2 separate regions of the Homo sapiens genome follow, and region 2 is linked to region 1. The links are contacts of gene promoters, found by promoter capture Hi-C in human tissues and cell types (Jung and others, 2019). All regions are on one chromosome and are shown on one strand. Each heading gives the region's core, a stretch centred on a gene start or on the middle of the fragment in contact. The rest is flanking DNA. Distances are from core to core; before and after follow the strand shown.

The links. The method cuts DNA at HindIII sites, captures the fragments that hold promoters and counts their contacts. A contact is called where the count stands out against the background at its distance.
Region 2: a contact is called between a fragment that was not itself captured here and the fragment with the promoter of KRT73 in region 1, in 2 of the 25 tissues and cell types used here (spleen and thymus).

The regions. Positions count from the first base shown.
Region 1 is chr12:52,617,120-52,619,819 of GRCh38, reverse strand. KRT73 (keratin 73) reads left to right here and starts at 1,261. Exons shown (of 9, transcript NM_175068.3): 1 at 1,261-1,742. The coding sequence starts at 1,296. The HindIII fragment of the contact is 11,365 bases long and covers 1-2,700 here.
Region 2 is chr12:52,356,947-52,359,646 of GRCh38, reverse strand. No RefSeq gene overlaps it. Among named protein-coding and RNA genes, the nearest start is that of KRT85, 9.2 kb to the left of the region's middle. The HindIII fragment of the contact is 6,815 bases long and covers 1-2,700 here.

The sequences.
Region 1 (2,700 bases), core at 12-2,511:
GGATATATTTGGGATTTGGGATTTGGGAAACTCTTGGGTCACATACTTTGGCAATGTCAAGGATCCATGAAATTCAAATGTCTTCCCCTACCTCCCCATCTCCAAAATTGTGAGCTAGGTTTGGTCTTCATAATTCGGGACCCAAGAGCCTAGCACAGTACCTGGGAGAGAGTCAGCCCTCAAGAGAAGTCTGTTAAACGAATGGATAAATGAATGAACAAGTAGATGGCTGGCTGGCTGGTTGGACGGATAGATGGACGAATGAATAAGGCGGGCATAGCTCTGAATGTGGAGTCAGAAGACCAGCCAAGGGAGTCCTCAAGGCTGGGGCCTGTGCTTTTTGGGGGCATTTTCATTCTCTGGGATTCACACAAAGAAAGGACTCACTAAATGTTTGCTAAAGGAATGACATCCTCAATTATCTGAACCTTGGTTTCCCCATTTGTGTAATGTGGATCATCACCATTCCCCTCCATGCAGACTAAGTGGATTAAATGAGCTTCTTGTGTGAGGAGCTCTGTTACACTGTAAAGTGCTGCACCAGTGTCAGCCATCGTGAATGGTGCAATGACCATAATTTCAAGGTCAAGAGTCAGGGTAGTGGGATGGTAAAGGGAAAAAGAAGTCAGTGTGTGCAAAGGAAGGTGAGCAGGGCAGCCCGGCTGGCACAGAGGAGCAGGAGAGCTGCCTGGGAGGGCACAGCAGGGGGCTGGCAGCCAGAGGCTGGTCCTGGATTCCCAGTGTGCTCCTCTCCTATGGCCCTGGCCAGCCATCAAACCTGTCTCCAGGAACTCTGGGAAGCCAGGCAGCAGCAGCCTCTTCTTAACCACATAAAAGCAGCTCAGCCAGGGTCCCTGAAGCAGCCCATCTGATGCTGGCATGGTTGTGAGATTTCTAACAGATGACACTGTCAATTAAAGGTCTCCCCTCTGTACCCCTACAATCCCAGGCCCCACCACTCCCTGGGGAACAGCAATTGAGACTGCGACAAACCTCCCACCTAAGATCTTTCTATGGATAATGTGCCCATGCTAATTACACATGTTCATTAGATAAAACTCAAATTACATGAGCAAGACTTGCAAGACTAGCACTTTGGGAGTTTTCAAGTCATTTACCTGGTGTCTGATTTTGCTGGGAGAAAATGATTTCTTGCTTCCAGGCAAACTGAACCCACAAATTAGGCCCATGGCTCCCTCTTGAGTCCTATAAAGTGGGAGCCCAGGATCACAGGCTGGTGAACTGCATCTCAGCTAAGGGTCAGCATCTTATCCCCACTTTCTGGCCTCCCCACCATGAGCCGCCAATTCACCTACAAGTCGGGAGCTGCTGCCAAGGGGGGCTTCAGCGGCTGCTCCGCTGTGCTCTCAGGGGGCAGCTCATCCTCCTACCGAGCAGGGGGCAAAGGGCTCAGTGGAGGCTTCAGCAGTCGGAGCCTTTACAGCCTGGGGGGTGCCCGGAGCATCTCTTTCAATGTGGCCAGTGGCAGTGGGTGGGCAGGAGGCTATGGATTTGGCCGGGGCCGGGCCAGTGGCTTTGCTGGCAGCATGTTTGGCAGTGTGGCCTTGGGGTCCGTGTGTCCGTCGTTGTGCCCGCCCGGGGGTATCCATCAGGTCACCATCAACAAGAGCCTCCTGGCACCCCTGAACGTGGAGCTGGACCCTGAAATCCAGAAAGTGCGTGCCCAGGAGCGGGAGCAGATCAAGGTGCTGAACAACAAGTTCGCCTCCTTCATTGACAAGGTGGGTCTTTCTGGAGAAAGCTGATCTTGGGCTCCCCTTTTAAGGACTCAGGAGGGAGCCACTGCCCTAATTTGTGGTTCAATTTGCCTGAGAGCAAGAAATCATTTTCTCCCAGCAAAATCAGACACCAGGTAAACAACTTGAAAGCTCCCCAGGTGCTGGGCCCATAAGGCTTGCTCATGCCGTAGAGCCCCTTCCTTCCCCCGCCTTCATTGTCCTTGGGGTGCTCCCTGTCTGAAGCAGACGAAGGCAGGACACCTCCCCAGGATGCAGACATAGCCCAGGGAGGAACTGGACAAAGCCTGGACATCAGAGGCAAGGGACCAGGGTTGGAGGGGTGAGAGGAGCCAGCAGCCTAGCCCAGGAAGGTGTCCAGGAAGCAATGAGAGCGGTCTCTGAGTTGAGAAGTAGCAGAGTGACAGCCTGTGAGACTTAGAAGCTAGGCGAAGGAGATGCCCTTGACAGCCTGGGGCATCTAGACTGCCATGCGACCCAGCTGTTCCTCCTGTGTCCCCTGAAAGCTCAGACTCAGTCCGTAACACACACAGCCTATGAGGCAAGGCAGCTGGAGGTCACGGTGCCCTAGAGCAGTGGTTCTCAAAGGTGGCCCTGGAACCAGCAGCAGCAACGTCACCTGGACGCTTGTTAGAATGCACACTCTCAGGCTCCACCCCAGAGCAACTGAATCAGAGACTCTGCAGCAGGGCCCAGCACCCTGCATTTTAACAAGCTCTCCAGGTGATGCTGATGTACACTCAGGTTTGAGAATCACTGAGGAACAAAGTGGTAGGAAGGTATTGGGAAGCAGAGACTTCCTAAGCTTAGAGGAGCAGGGGAAGCTCACCCGGAGCGACAGTGAGGTAGGGTGGTGAGGCATGAGTAGGAGTTTTCAGATGGAGGTGGGGAAAAGGCAATCTAGGGAGACAGCACGTGCAGCATGGTAGAACTTGTCTGGGGA
Region 2 (2,700 bases), core at 65-2,564, 260 kb after region 1:
CTACTCCTCAGCCCTGTCCAACCCCTCCATGCGGTGCTCATCCTCCCAGTCATGGACTCCACCCCAAGGAGACAAGTCTACCCTCTGAGGCAGCCCAGAGACACTCTCTCCTACATACCCCTTGTGGACACATAGGCCATCCCACATCCCTCCTCCCATTTGCCTTTGCTCAGGGCCCTCCTCTGCTCCCCAAAGCTACCACCCTCACCCCTACACCCCCCAGCCCTCCCCCGCCCCCATCATATAGTGTCTGGAACCCTGAGAATCTCTGGTTTTGTCTCTGCGGATCTGGGCCAGGGATGTCAACGGGTGTGTCTGGATCAAGCTGGAAATTCCATAAGGACAGGAAGTATCTCCTCCTGGCTCTGACCTCCCACTGAGTCCCAGGATGGGGCTCCAAGATATGCCAGGCCTGGGATGTGCTGGATGAATGCAGGCAGCTGGTGCAGCAGGAGGTAGAGACATCCAGTCCTCTTGCCCTCAGCTCCATCTCCCCATTAGCTGTCACCGTCATCAAGCAGGTGTCTGCCAGCCCCCTGCTGCCCCATCCTGCAGCCTCTTTCTCTGAGAGGAGAAGATAGGGCCTTGTGCATCCTCACTTTAGGCCCAAAGGGCTGTAGCCCCACTGGAGGCTGCTGGCTGCTTCTGAGTGCTTAGGCTGCTGCTCTGTTTGAGGTTTGCTGGCTGACACCTGGCGGGCCTCCTCCAGGTCTCTTGCCTGCTGCCTCCTTTTTCCCAGCTGTTTGGGCCCTGAGGGCATGGTGACAATCACAATAGGCCAACTTTCAATTTAGGGGACATCATTCACCCACAGGAAACGTTAAATCCCAGGGGCTGAAACATCAGGAAATGGAAATTTGAGCCCCAATTCTGCCAAGACTGCCAGGTCTCGGTGAGTCCTTGGGCAGGAAGTGGCTTTCATGCTTTGCATGTCAGTCTGGGGTCTATGAGATGAGTGGGTAGAGTCCTTACCAGGTCTGCTGCCTCCTATGGTTCTGAGATGCTACAGAGAGTCTATGCTTGGGGAAAACAGCTTCATGTTACCATGGATCTGGGCTGAGCAAAACAAAAATGCCAAATCTGATACCCAAAAAATAACGGCACCATGGATTGAAAAGTCAAACAGCCAGAACCTGGGAGATAGGAATGAATTTTTTAATACATTTCCGTGCTTTGTGTGCAAATACCATTCAACAGATTCAGCTGGCCAGAGGTGCCTTTTGCTTATGGGGAGGTAAGCCTCTGCCCCAGCCCTCCTTGCAGCCAACAGCAAAAACCCACCACAGCAAGCTCTTCTGGCTCAAAGGATGCTGGGGCTCCTGCAGCTCTCTCCTGATCAAAGAACTATTCCCCTCGGAATGCAAAGGGTACAGTCCAAGGGTAACTAAGGATTAACATTTTATTAGAAAGAAAAAATTCTGAAGAAGTCAAGTGACCTGAAATTGAGAGATCGAGGAAAAGCCAGAAGTTCAAGAGGCCCAAACAATAAAGTGGGCCATGGGAGTGATCCCAGATCTCTGCCCTGGGCTCCTTCCTGCTTAGAAACATCACAAACCAAGCTAACACCAGCATCAGAGAAAATCAGACCTGCTGTCTGTATTCAATTCTTATGTAAATGTTAGTGATATCCTTCCCCACAAACACACAAAGCTTCCAGAGGATTAGAAGTATGGATAATAACCTGTTCAAAGAAACAGGTACGCTTGGGATTTGTCATCTTTTCCTTTCTCCTGAAACCACTAACACTCCACCACCAATTCTCAACCCACTCTGCTTCAACCCATCCTCACAAACACCTATGCCCAAGAGAGTTCCTTCCCCCAGCCCGTGTCTCTAACTGTTCCCTGCTTCAATCTTTGGGATCTCAGAAAATAGAATTTTGTGTTACTACTCACATTAGCCAAGCATAGTGAGGAACACAAATTAACCATATTATCAAGAAAATTACCAAGTATGTTCTGTGTAGACACGGACATGACCATGTGGGACTTAATGTCCCCTTGTCTGGGTTATTCACACTCCTGTCTCTCTCTGGGAACATGAGCATTAGGAAGTGACTGTACTAAGTGTTTTGCTCATTGAGGATCAGAGCAACAACGACATGGGCACTAAGCGCCACACTCCTTGGGTGTAGGGACATGCCAGGCAGAACAAGCAATGGGAGAGGCTTATTTCACAGAGCCTCAGGCCACCTTCCTGCCTCCCCCAACCCCCAACCCCCAACCTGTGCATGCCTGGAAATCCCTGCTCATTTCCGCTTTGTTCAAAAACCGAGGGCTCCCCCATGTTGGCAGGGGAGCAGCCAGGGAGTGGGGTGAGGCGGGGACAGCATGATAAGCTTACGCATTAAAAATGAAGAAAATACCCAAGGCATTCATAGACAAATAGCCACCCTCCACCACCATCAAAAGGAAACACAGACCCTTCCCCAGTCCACAGTCCCATGCCCCAGGGCAGCCAATGCCCCCTGAGACACCGTTTCCTCCTCAGAGTCACTCTGGTGACCCTTTTAACCTGGCTTTACTGCTGCTCAAACTTGGTGGGATCCGGACTGTGATGGGCAGGCCCCTGCAAGACCCTTTGGTCCGGGAGACAGAGACAAGGGAAGCACCACCCTACTAAGATAGACCTCTGTCCGCCCAGGTCAAGTCACTGCCTGGCCATTGTGGTCACTGAAACAGAGTCTGAAGACATCAGAAG